2 separate regions of the Homo sapiens genome follow, and region 2 is linked to region 1. The links are contacts of gene promoters, found by promoter capture Hi-C in human tissues and cell types (Jung and others, 2019). All regions are on one chromosome and are shown on one strand. The core of a region is centred on a gene start or on the middle of the fragment in contact, and the rest is flanking DNA. Distances in the headings are between cores, read along the strand shown. Region 1 holds the start of PIGH (phosphatidylinositol glycan anchor biosynthesis class H). Region 2 holds the start of LOC124903331 (a long non-coding RNA gene).

Region 1 (6,957 bases), core at 4,458-6,957:
TGGCTCACACCTGTAATCCCAGCACTTTAGGAGGCCGAGGCAGGCAGGTTGCTTGAGACTGGCAGGTTGCTTGAGACCGGCCTGGGCAACATGGTAAAACCTCGTCTCTACTACAAATATAAAAATTAGCCAGACATGGGGGTGCGCACCTGTGGTCCCAACTACTGGGGAGGCTGAGGCAGGAGGATTGCTTGATCCCAGGAGGCAGAGGTTGCAGTGAGCCAAGATTGCACCACTGCACTCCAGCCTAGGTAACAAAGCGAGACTATGTATAAAAAAAAATTAATATGAGAGAAGCATATAAATTTATTTAATATAAATTTTATATGACATAGGAGCTTTTGTAAAGAGGAAATACTTAGGTGGCAGGATTATGGATGTATTTTGTTCTATAAAATTTCAATTTGATGTTAGGTAAATACCAAACACATCTTACTAAAAAGAGAGTGGCAAGGCTGGGTACAATAGCTCATGCCTGTAAGCCCAGCACTTTGGGAGGCCAAGGTGGGAGAATACCTTGAGCCCAGGAATTTGAAGTTATAGTGAGCTGATATTTGTGCCAATGGACTCTAGCCTGGGTGACAGAGTGAGATGGTGTCTCTAAAAATAAATAAATAAAAAGGGAGAGTTAATAAATTTTTAATGTACATCATTTATGAGAATATCAGAAAACATCAAATACCTACAAATGAGGTCTAATGAAAGATGTGCAAATAATTGTTAAGCATTGCTGAGAGAAATTAGAGAAGACTTCAATAAATGGAGAGATGCCAGGTTCATGGATTGGAACATGCGGCATAGTTAAGATGTCAATTCTCCCTTAGATTGATTGATAGATTCAGTACAATCCAAGCAAAATTTTTGGTGAAAATACAAAAACCCTATAATAGCCAATACAATTTTGAAGAAAAGGTATAAAGTTGAAAGACTTAACAGTATGAGAAATCAAGACCTACTGTAGAGCTACAGTAATTGAGACAGGTTGCTATTAGCACAAGGGAAGACAAAATAGAACAACAGAACATAATAGAGAGTGTGGAAATAGACCGAGAAATTTGTGGTCACCTATTTACAACAAAGGCACTATCTCAATTAGGGGGGAAGGGTAGTCTTTTCAACACGTGCTGCTGGGAAACAAAATGACCCTTAACCTCTACAAACAAAAATTAGTTCAAAATGGATCATTGGCTTAAATATGAAAGGTAAAATAATTAAGCTTCTAGGGAAAAAAAAGATAGGCAAAGTTTTTTTTGTTGTTGTTGTTTTGTTTGTTTTTTCTCGCTCTGTTACCCAGGCTGGAATGCAGTGGCTTGATCACAGCTTTTTGTAGCCTCCTACAGTAAGCTGGGCTTACTGGGCTCAAGCAACCCTTCTGCCTCAGCCTCCCTAGTACCTAGTAGCTGTGCCACCATGCCCAGCTTTTTGTTTTTTGTTTTTTGTTTGGTAGAGTCAGAGTCTCGCTATGTTGCCCAGCATGTTCTGGAACTCCTGAGCTCAAACGATCTTCCTGGCTCAGCCTCTCAAAGTGCTGGGATTATAGGCATGAGCCACCATGCCCGCAAGACAGGCAAAGCTTCCTAAACAGGACAAAATATTATACAACACTAGCCATAAAAGACAAGATTGATAAATTGGACTTTATGAAAATTAAAACCTCTGTTCATCAAAAGACACCATTAGAGTATGGAAAAGTAAGTCACAGACTGTTTTACTGCTTGGAGGATATACCTCAATTAAAACATTTCCTTAAATGGACAGATGAGGAGACTTCCATTTCTGAAAGATGGAACAGACATTCTTTGCCTATCCATCCCAGTAAGAAAGCTAAAACCTTTGCGCCTGTAATCCCAGCTACTTGGGAGGCTGAGGCACAAGAATCGCTTGAACCCAGGAGGTGGAAGTTGCAGTGAGTAGAGATTGTGCTACTGCACTCTTGCCTAGGCGACAGAGCAAGACTGTCTCAAAAAAAAAACAAAAACAAAAAACAAGGGCAGGGCTGGGAGCGGTGGCTCACGCCTATAATCCCAGCACTTTGAGAGGTTGAGGCGGGCAGATCACCTGAGGTCAGGAGTTTGAGACCAGCCTGACCAACATGGAGAAACCCCATCTCTACTAAAAATACAAAATTAGCTGGGCATGGTGGCGCATGCCTGTAATCCCAGCTACTTGGGAGGCTGACCTCAGCAGGAGAATCGCTTGAACCTGGAATGCGGAGGTTGTGGTGAGCCAAGATTGTGCCATTGCACTCCAGCCTGGGTAACAAGAGCAAAACTCCGTCTCAAACAAACAAACAACCCACAAAGCAGTAATAAGGATTTTAGTGACTGGGTGCAGTGGCTCATGCCTGCAATCCCAGCACTTTAGGAGGCCAAGGCAACAGGAACGCTTCAACCCAGGCATTCAAGGTCACAATGAGTTATGATTATACCACTGCACTGCAGCCTGAGTAACAGAGCAACACCCTCTCTCTAAAAAGAAAAAGGATTTTAGAGATCTTAGACTACCACAGTATTTATTCCTAATAATTGAGTATTTTTAAAAAATTAAGTAAAGTACATTTGGCCTTTTTCTTTCTATAACTCTATAATTGTGAAACTTCTTAGCCTGCTGGGCATGGTGACTCATGCCTGTAATCCCAACTCTTTGGGAGGCTGAGGCCGAAGGATCACCCGAGCCTAGGAGTTTGAAAATAGCCTGGGAAACATAGTGAGATGCCATTTCTACAAAATATGCAAAAATTAGCCTGATGTGGTAGAGTGTGCCTGTAGCCCTAGATACTTGAGGGGCTGAGGTGGGAGGATCTCTTTAGCCCAGGAAGTTGAGACTGCAGTGAGCCATGACCGTACCACTGCTGCACTCCGCTTTCGGTGACAGAGCAAGACCTTGCCTCAAACAAAACAAAACAAACCAGAAAGAAAGAAAAAGAAAAGAAACTTCTTAGCCTGTACAGGTACCTTTTGTATTGTAGACCCTCTGGAAGTTTGGCGAAATGAATGGACCCTTTATTATAATAATGCTTTAAAATGTATAAATACATAGGACTTCTAAGAAAATCAACTAAATTAAAATATGGTTATCAAAATATTTTAAAAATGTGTTACAGTGATATGTTTCTCTTTATTGACACATTAAATAATAATAGCTAGTGATGGGTTTAATAATTACTGCAATTTTGAAGTAGCAATGACTAGAAATGACATTTTGAAACAATTATTGTGAAAAGAAAATATCTGTGATTTCTGTCAGTGACAAAAATCACAAGCTCTACTAATACTAGTTTGTTGCCCATATTCATAATCAAAAGAAATGTTAAATTTTAATTAGAAGTTAATGAAACTAAAAATGAAACACTGATTCTATCCGTGGAGCCCAAGTTAAGAACTCCAGGACTACAGGCTTCCCCAAAACATTAACAGTACTTATCTCTGAGTGATGGAAATATGGGTGGTTTACATTTTTTTCTTTTCTGTATTTTTCAAATTTTCCACAATAAGCAAATATCACTTTTATAATTATAAAACACATGATATATGCAATAGTAAAAGGGGTGATATGGTTCGGCTCTCTGTGCCTACCCAAATCTCATGTCAAATTGTAATCTCCACTTGTTAGGGGAGGGACCCAGTGGGAGGTGATTGGATCATGGGGACGGATTTCCCCCATGCTGGTCTCGTGATGCTGAGTGAGTTCTCTCACGAGATCTGACGGTTTAAAAATGTGGCACTTCCCCACTCCCCTCCTGCTGCCATGTAAGACATGCCTGGCTTCCCCTTTGCCTTCCACCATTATTGTAAGTTTCCTGAGGCCTTGCCAGCCATGTGGAACTGTGAGTCAATAAACCTCTTTTCTTTATAAATTACCGAGTCTCAGGTAGTTCTTTATAGCAGTGTGAAAACGGACTAATAAAAGGAGTGTATTAATTGTCAGATTCGGGGCACAGAAATAAAACTAGAAAAATAAAGAAGTGCTTGAAGAAATCCTTTAGGAAAAAAGAAAGGGAAATAAAATTCTGAATGAAGATGAAGAAACGGAACCTTTCATCAGAGAGACTTAAAGCTGGTGAGACCTTTATGCCATGGATCTTTTTTTTTTTTTAAATGAATATAGACACAGTCTTGCTCTGTTGCCCAGGCTGGTCTTGAACTCCTAAGTTCAAGTGATTCTCCTGCCTCAGCCACCCGAACAGCTGGGATTACAGGCATGCTCCACCATGCCCAGGTAATTTTTTTGTATTTTTAGTAGAGATGGTTTCACCATGTTGGCCAGGCTGATCTTGAACTCCTGACCCAAGTGATCTGCCCTCCTCAGCCTCCCAAAGTGCTGAGATTACAGGCATGTGCCACCATGCCCAGCCCATCACAAGTGTTTTGACAGTCCACATAGCCACTCCTGGGCCACATCAGAAGTAAAAATGGAACTCATAGGCCACTATTACTCATGAGTTTAGTAATTTTATTATCCATTTCTTCTGCATCTCCCGCTCCTGCTTAATTCCCAGCCAGGTCTTGCCTGTCTACCACGGTCCAAGCAGTCATTTGGGAGACAGAACTCCCAGGCAGTGAAATCCAAACTCCTTACCAGACCCTACAAGACCCTCTTGGATCTGACCCCTACCTGCCTCCCCAGCTTCCAACTGTTTTCCCCACACACCAACCTTTCTCGCCTTTTGATTATTTCATTAAGCCAAGCTTGTTCCAACTTCGAGGGGTTTGCCTTTCCTGGTCTTTCTTTCTGGCAAATTCCTCCTCCAGAGCTCCTTCAGTCCTGTCTGGCTCGTCACCCTTGTAACTCAGTGTCCTCTTACTTAGAGACTTCGCCTGACTGCCCTATGTAAAGTCCTCAGTCCATCCCTGCCAGTCAGCATAGTATTGCCAACGATACTCTCTTATTTCCATATTGTCTCCTACTAGAAAGGAAGCTGCCCGAGGGCAGAGACTGTCATCAACATCGTTCACTGCTGCATCCTCAAGCACCTCAAACTACCCGGCACAGGAAAAGAGTAAGTGAAATGAATACCCGTGGGCTCTCCTTGCGGCTCACTCTGGCTTAGAGAAATCGGCTTGCCAAGCAAAAGCATGATTAAAACTGTGGGTTTGGGCTGGGTGCGGTGGCTCACGCCTGTAATCCCAGCACTTCGGGAGGCCGAGGCGGGCGAATCACCTGAGGTCAGGAGTTTGAGACCAACCTGGCCAACATGGTGAAACCTGTCTCTACTAAAAATACAAAAATCAGCAGGGCGTGGTGGCGCGCGCCTGTAATCCCAGCTACTCAGGAGGCTTAGGCAGGAGAATCGCTTGAACCCGGGGGAAGCAGGTTGCAGTGAGCCGACGTCGCGCCATTCCGTCTCAAAACAAAAACAAACTGTGGGTTTGTTTTGAGACAGGGTCTTGCTCTCTCGCACAGGCTAGAGAGCAGGGGCATGATCTCCGCTCACTGCAACCTCGACCTCCCAGGCTCAAGCGATCCTCCCGCCTTGGCCTCCCAGTGCTGGACTACAGGCCTGAGTCAACGCGCCCGGTCTAAAAACGATTTTAATCTTTCCACTTAACTATTGCCCCGACGAGGTTTTTTCGAAGACAGTCAAGGCCGGCCCGGAAGAACGCACAACCATCAGCCCCCAGCAGAGCTCTCGGCGCGCAACTGAGGCTGCGCAGGCTTAGGGCGGGGCGTGGTGACGCGGCTGCCGGAAGCGGGTCTGGAGCGGGCGAGACGGCCAGGGCCGGCGAGCGCAGTGCAGCGCCGCGCGGTGCGGGCGGCCGAGTGGGGGCGTCATGGAGGATGAGCGGAGCTTTTCGGATATCTGCGGCGGCCGCCTGGCGCTGCAGCGCCGCTACTACTCCCCGTCCTGCCGGGAATTCTGCCTCAGCTGCCCTCGGCTCTCGCTGCGTTCGCTCACCGCTGTCACCTGCACGGTGTGGCTGGCGGCCTACGGACTCTTCACCCTCTGCGAGGTAATGGCAAGTCGGCCCCTCCCCGCGCTCGAAGGAGGGGGTTCGGCTTTGGGAGGGTCTTTGGGGTCTTTGGTCGAGCCCGGACCTCTGGTCGGCCCCTCCTACAGTGATAGGACAGGAGGGCGGGAACTCACGGGTTCTGGGGACGATATTCCGCTGCTGGACAGCTCTTTAAATGACGTTTAGTGAAATGTGTGCTCCTGGATAGTACATTCCCCTTCCGTGGCTGTGCTCTGCTCCGTGGGTTCACTCAGCATACATCTAGTTCTTGCGCGACGGCCTAAAACTTTAACTGCCATGTGTTCTATGTAGTATAGGCGCGCAGTAATTTAATTCCAAGAGTTCAAGGAACTACTAAGTGGGTCTTCCTCGTCCATCCCTTCTGCTCCTCAAAGTAGTACTGCTAACAATACTTTACGTAGACTTCCACAAACTGTCTTTGCCTCCACAAGTGTGTGTGTTTATCTGTGTGTATAGATAGAGTGTTATAGTTCTTCCTAATCTCTGTTTTTCAAGGGAGTTTTTTAACCCTCCCTCCTCCCAAACCCTTCCCCAATTTCAAGTACTTTCTAAAGGTTTATGAAATTTTGGACGTGTGTGATAGCTGTGCTCAATTTCCAGATTCATTCCTGTTTTCTCTGAGCCTCAATTTTCTACATCTCTAAAATAGAATTCATGCCTGCCATACCAGCTTCATGATATTGTGAGGGTTAAATGCAGTAACTTTGTGACAGCTCTCAAATAAAAAGAATTATCCTAATTTTCAGGATAAGTTCTAGTTTCATATGTAGTGCCTGAATTGAATGTATTATCCCAGAAGTGATCTAATCAGAGCTAAGTACAGCAGGGCTATTTATTTTTGTAACTTGGATATTGTTTCCATTACTGCATCCATTCGCTTTTTTGCTGTCAAAGCGTGTTTCAGAGCATGGTAATTTAGCATAGAAATATGCAGAATTAAGACTGCCCTAATTGCAGGAAACTATCTAACTATCTAAACCGTATG
Region 2 (6,957 bases), core at 4,458-6,957, 38 kb before region 1:
GCTGGGCCTGCAGGCATGCACCACTGTGCCCACCTTGGATAAGTTCTTATATATCTGTCCCTACATGCTTCCAGCAGTAAATGATAAAACCATATCTACCACCTAGCATTGTTAGCAGAATTAACTGAGAATATGTATGGAGTGCTCAATACTCCTAGTACTTCAGTGCCTTCTTCCTACTGAAGACCTTCATTGCTTATTTCAAATCACATTCCCTTGTGAAATCTATTTTAGTCCAGACTGATCTCTTCCTCCTTTGAAATTCTGTAGAATTCAATATTTTTGTTTATTCCATGTATATTTATTTCATCTAGGCCTTAATATATCACAAATTTCCTGCAATCTCTAGCACTGCTGAGAAAATATCAGAACAGTGCTCAATAAAGTACATGCTGATTCAGGAGGAGACAGGATCAAAGGACTGATTGCATGAGTCACTAGGGTCCATATTGTGGAGGCAGAAAATGTATCCACAGCTGGGCACAGTGGCTCATGCCTGTAATCCCAGCACTTTGGGAGGCCTTGGCAGAAGGATCGCTTGAGCTCAGGAGTTCGAGACCAGTCTGGGCAACATGGCCAAACCCTGTCTCTACAAGAAATACAAAAATGAGCCAGGCATGGTGGCATGCACCTGTAGTCCCAGCTACTTGGGAGGCTGAGGTAGGAAGATGGCTTGAGCCTAGGAGGCAGAGGTTGCAGTGAGCTGAGATCATGCCACTGTACTCCAGCCTGGGCAACAGAGCCAGACCCTATCTCAAAAAAAAAAAAAAAAAAAAAAAAAAAGAAAATGTAGTAACATGCCAAAGGGGATTTCTAACAGGTCTATTAGCAGAAATGCTAACAAAAACTTGCACATTCAGCCTATCAATGGATCTTTCTAATTCTCCAAAGTCATAAGATAAGTCTCAAGAAAGCTTTCCAGGAGACAAGCATGTTAACACAGTGCCTAGGAACCTTGCCTAGTATACCTCTGAACTTGCTGTGTCTGAATGTACATATTCTTACTGTGCAATGTGTCATACAAAGAAAACCACAGTGCCCCTTGAGCAGCTCAGGATCTTAGACATTTAAATGCTTGCTGTTCATTTTAATATCTACCCTAAAAATTCTGTAGGGTATTTTTCTCCAGATGAAGAAACAGATAAAGAAGCTAAGTTATGAGCCCCAAGCACCATGTAATCCATCCCCTCACCACGCCTGGCTCCCAGCTTACCTGTGGTCTCCTCCCAGTGTGACACAGCTGTAGCCATCTGACACAGCTCTGCTAACCACCTCAGCCAGTTCCTGGTTGGCAAGACCCACTGAGCGTGGATTCACTATCAGGTTGTTGTAGAGATCATCTTTGGGGACTGGAGTAAAACTCAAATCTCCAAAGTCTTTTAGGTGGCAGCCTGGAAGCAAATGAGGGATGACAAGATGAATTTTCTGTGCTATCTCCAACTCTTAACTAGCCTGGGCCACAATGATAATACGTGACAAAGTACACATCATAATCATTTTGTCACAGTAAAATTTAAAATGTCAAATGATTGTGGGAAGATTATCTCGATCCTATTATGAACAGTTTTGCAGATGTTGGAAACTGAAACTAAGAGATATCGATTGACTTAACCCAACAATAAAAAAATGGTTAACCATTAGACCTCAGATATCCTGGAGTGATAGAGTAGAAATAAAATATCAAAAAGAACCAACAATCTTAAAGAAAATTAAGAACCAACAATTTTAAAGGAAATTAAGTACTATTAATTTAGCAAAAAAATACACAAAGAGAGTCTCATTTTTTTAAACTTTCTTTTTGTAGAAATGGGGTCTTGCTATGTTGCCCCAGCTGGTCTCAAACTTCTGACCTCAACTGATCCTCCCGCCTCATCCTCCCAAAGTGCTGGGATTATGGGCATGAGCCACCTGCCTGGCCAAGAAATTCACATATTATAAACTTTTATAAATAGCCAATCTGAAACATCCTAAAAGAAATATCTAATATTTATTGATTATTTACAAGATCCCAGGCATTGTTCTAGCTGCTTAACATAAATTCTTATTTAAGACTCAAAACAGTTGTGTGAGGCAACTAAAATGTGCCTATTTGGTGGATGAGGAAACTGAAGCAAAGAGAAGTAACCGCCCAAGTTACACAGCTATTAAGTGCCAGAATCAGGATCCAAATCTAGGCCATCTGGCTCCAAAGTTTGTACAGGTTGAGTACCCATTATCCAAAGGCTTGGGACCAGAAGTGTTTTAGATTTTTTATTTTTTTCAGATTTTGGAATATTTGCATTATATATATATTGAGATATCTTAGGGATGGAACTCAAGTCTAAACACAAAACTTGTGTTTCATACACACTTTATACACATAGCCTGAAGGTAATTTTATATAATATTTTAAATCATCTTGTGCATGAAACAAAGTTTGTGTGCATTAAACCATCAGAAAACAAAGGTGTCACTATCACAGCCACCCATGTGGACAATATGATTGTTTGGCATCACCATCTTCCTGACTCTGAATTTATATGCTACTGATAGGCAGTTATTTTCTTACTTTTTCACACATAAGTACTTAAAAGCAGAAAATATGACATACCATTAATACAGTGTGTTCAGGGTAACTTGTAATGTCATATTGGTGCTCAAAAAGTTTCAGATTTTGGAACATTTCCGATTTTGGATTTCTGGATTAGGGACGCTCAACCTCTATCCTTTACTATGCAGTTTGTCTCCTAAGGAATTCCTCATGAGTCCAACACTTTAAGAACTAGTGCTATATTCTCACAGCTTTGAATATTTCCCCACCTAAGTTGGATGCTACATTTAGGATGAGGACTAAATAATCTGACTGTATCAAAAAGGGATCTGAACTATCAGAGAACAGAACATTGACATAGATTATATTCTTAGGGTCCTGGTATTGGTGGGAAAGGGGCAGTAACAAGATAAGACGTGGCGTATCTTAATATTTGCAGAGATTTGTGTTAAAGGTTCGGATTAAGAGCAGCATGGACTCATCATGAATTTAAATTATAATTTTGAGCTCTACCTCTTGAACCCAAACTCAATCCAAAGCCAAAATTCTGAAGAAATATAAAAATTTGAGGAGCAGTGACCATAACAAAAAGCCATGAGGCCAACCAAGGAATTGCCACCGCAAGAGATATTGGAAACAAGACAGAAAACTTTGTCCTATTCTTTTTTTCCTCCCCAGCCCTTGTGTCACCCAGACCTATTCTTAAAGGTGAGATACACCTACAGCAAGAATTCTGTATTTATCTTTTGGTCATTACACTTTAAGAAATAGTCATATAAAAGGCCCCAACCTGGAGAAGATCCAGACAACCAGATAAAAAGGTAGCAGAGCAGGGGTAGGAGGAGAAAAATATGACAACAGGCCAAAGACATTGTGAACCAAGATAAAAATGTGAACCAAATAAAACATCTATAAAAATCTTTTATTTTTTTAAAAAAAGACAAAAAGGTTTGAGTAAAGTCATTATGGACTTCACCAAATCTCAAAATATGGAGAGGATACTTTAGACTTAAGAGAATGAAAGCTTTAATTAACCTTCAAGTCAATATCAAGTCTTTCCTCTGTCTGTTGACAACACAATCCTGGACTGCACAGACTTTTTTTTTTTTTTTTTTTTTTTTTGAGACAGGGTCTTGCGCTATCATGCAGGCTGGAGTGCAGTGGCACAATCTCGGCTCACTGCAACCTCCACTTCCTGGATTCAAGCAATTCTCCTACCTCAGCCTCCCAAGTAGCTGGGATTACAGGTGTGCGCCACCACGTCTGGTGAATTTGTTTTTGTATTTTTAGTAGAGACAGGGTTTCGCCATGTTGGCTAGGCTGGTCTCGAACTCCTGACCGCAAGTGATCCACCTGCCTCGGCCTCCCAAAGTGCTGGGATTACAGGCATGAGCCACTGCACCCAGTGTACTGTACAGATCTTGAATGGACAATTCCTGGATGTTTCTACTTTCACCTCCATGTTTATCTCAGCACTCTCCTTAAATCACATCAACCATTAGGTTCTTACTAGATGTAAGACACCAGGGTATGCCTGGTGTTTTATAATATTAGGTGTACAATTATAAAAGATTTATAATCTTTATAAATTTATATTTTGGTAATTGCACTCTAAGGAATAGTCATATAAAAGGCCCCAAACTGGAGTTAAATAATATTAACTAACGTTTCAGAACTATTTGCCAAGCACTTTCATTCAATCCTCATAGGACCAAGAAGAAATACAGGGAAATTAAAGTGCTCAATCCAGTGGATAAGTCACAGAACTTTGGGACTACCCAAGTCCAATCATGCAAACCAGGATGTAGACTCAGATAAACGTGACAGAAAACAGTACTCACTTGTATTAGAAAAAAGCTGCACAAAGCCTAAAAAGGAACCTAAAGAGAATTTGGCAATCTTACAGTAACGTTCCCAGGAAGAGAGACTGAATTTCATAGAAGGATTTCAGTCGCTAATTCAGGCCACCACTCTGCTCTCATTACAGGTGCTAGAAGGGTTACTAACTTCTGTCGGGGGTTCATCAGATTAATTCCCAACCTGGGTAGTGGATTCTGTCCACATTGTCCAACTCCATTTACTCCGATGCCATCTCACCAAACAGCATTCTGGCTATTCAGTTGGTTTCCCACATGCCTTAATATGGGCAAAAGCTTCTAGACAGTGGACACTGGAAGGACTACTGCTTAACATAATTATGCACGGGCATTTTGGTTGATCCAGCATGGTTAGCATGAGTCTGGGTCTGAAAGCCTGATGAGCTATGCACTCAGCAACCTTGTGTTTCTGCATCCACAAAGCTAAGGGCCAGCCTCCTCTAAAGGGATTTATACCTTGAGAGGCCCTGCCTGAGTGGCCTACCTTCCTGCTCCCAACTCTGTTTTTTCTTTTTTCCCCCTAGAATATTCAGGAAGAACGAACTCAACTCTATAATTTGCACAGTTTCAGTGCCAGGTAAGGACTTGGGACAATGAGTCCTAAAGGAGTCAGGGGAAGTTCACTGAGGATCAGGGGCGTCAAAGAAGAACTCCTATGACAAATAGTTTGTACTTGCACTGTTTTGTTTTGAAATTCTCTGTAAAATTGGATAACGTGTATATCAGAGGTCCCAAACCTACTGCCCGGGTTTTACTACTGTATCCTTTCAGACTTTAATCATTTTTTTTCTTTTTTTTTTGGATTATTTGTAGAGACAGGGTCTCACTGTGTTTTCCAGGCTGGTCTCCAACTCCTGGGCTCAAGTAATGCTCCCATCATGGCCTTCTAAAGTGCTAGGATTACAGATGTGAGCCACCATGCCTGGGCTAGTTATAGGCATAATACATAATATTATTTTAAGTAAGGTTATTAGAGTAAATTAACTGTCATAGCAAAATATGTTTGAGCCCAAAATATGGCTCAAACAAGTTTATTTCTTGTTTGTTTAGCATCCAGGGTAGATATTCCAGGTCAGCAGGAGGCTTTCCTTTATGCAGTAATTCAGAGACCTGGCTTGTGGCTCTCATGCCTAGGACTTTGCCATCTGTGTGGCTAAGTCTAGGTCTCCCCAGGTTCAAGGCAGCGGGAGAGGAAGAAAGCATTGAGAAAGCACACCTCCTCTTTTCAAGACTCTGGCCTGAAAGTGGCACATTACTCCTGCTCACTTTTGGCACTGGCCAGCAAATGCAGGTCTAGCTTATGTCCAGAACAGAATGCGAATGGATTTTGGTGGACAGCTAGCAATGTATGCCACCGTGAGTACTTTTTTATTCTACTGCCATAACCTTTAAGAACAAAATATGAAAGTTGCTCTAGGATTACAAATTTATGTTAAACTATTCTAGTTAATTACATAACTGAATCAACAAATACATGATGCCAGCCTGATGTCACCTCTTAAGAGCTTTCTCCTCTAATGCCCACTGTGCCAATAGTATTGGGTACTACCAATACCCAAAGGACTGGTAGAACAGAACCCTAGTTCTAGGATTATCTGAACCCTGGTTCTAGTATGTTGTTGTAGAAAACATGAATTGTAACCCATCTGCTACAGTTTTTTTTTAAGAGGAGTGAGGAGGCTGATGGGAAGTTAACTTTTTGTAACAGCAGGATGAACTGAGTAATATTAAAGTTCTTTTTTTTTTTTTTTTTTTTTTTGAGACAGAGTCTTGCTCTGTCGCTCAGGCTGGAGTGCAATGGCATGATCTCGGCTCACTGCAACCTCCACCTCCCTGGTTCAAGGGGCTCTGCTGCCTCAGCCTCCCCAAGTAGCTGGGATTACAGGCATGCACCACCATGCCCAGCTAATTTTTGTAGTTTTAGTAGAGACGAGGTTTCGCCATGTTGGTCAGGCTGGTCTCGAACTCCTGACCTCAAGTGATCCTCCCACTTCAGCCTCCCAAAGCGCTAGGATTACAGGTGTGAGCCACCATGCCCAGCCTTAAAGCTATTTCTTTATCAGAGTGCTGTGGCAAGTTCTTCTGGTTCATAGGTCATAAGAAACGGTCTCACTAATTTTTCAAGAAGCTTAGGGTAATGATGAAAAATGCAGACATTGTAATGTGTAAGGAATATGTGTCTGGCTGTTATGCCTGTGGGAACTTTCCCTTTCTCTAACTGTGCATCAGGTCAATTCATCTGTAAGTCCAGGTCAGATGAGACCTAGTGTTTCATTGCTGCTCTTTCTTCTAAGAGGACATTGTAGGACAAGAGGAGCCTGAAATTTCAAGGAAGTTCTCATGTCAAATAGATTTGGAACAATGTGAAAGGGTCTCATTTTTCACTTGCTGTTTATACACTGGCACAGCCTTGTTGCTTCTCTCCTGAGTGCTGGTAATAAAATACACCGAGTACTACTCTGATCTTTCAGGCCCAGATGTTACCTTTGGCCTTGATAAACCTCTCCAGGCTCTATCAGAGTGGAACAAGAACACAAGTGCATCAACAGA

What was found. The method cuts DNA at HindIII sites, captures the fragments that hold promoters and counts their contacts. A contact is called where the count stands out against the background at its distance.
Region 2: a fragment that was not itself captured here is called in contact with the fragment with the promoter of PIGH in region 1 in 1 of the 25 tissues and cell types used here (pancreas).

Annotation. Positions count from the first base shown.
Region 1 is chr14:67,599,018-67,605,974 of GRCh38, reverse strand. PIGH (phosphatidylinositol glycan anchor biosynthesis class H) reads left to right here and starts at 5,707. Exons shown (of 4, transcript NM_004569.5): 1 at 5,707-5,951. The coding sequence starts at 5,772. It also overlaps a transcript of GPHN not described here. RefSeq lists an enhancer at 5,710-6,029. The HindIII fragment of the contact is 9,090 bases long and covers 3,132-6,957 here.
Region 2 is chr14:67,636,620-67,643,576 of GRCh38, reverse strand. It overlaps ARG2 (arginase 2), which reads right to left. Exons shown (of 8, transcript NM_001172.4): 3 at 1,214-1,391. It overlaps LOC124903331 (a long non-coding RNA gene), which reads left to right and starts at 3,864. Exons shown (of 2, transcript XR_007064218.1): 1 at 3,864-4,984. It also overlaps a transcript of GPHN not described here. The HindIII fragment of the contact is 3,175 bases long and covers 4,120-6,957 here.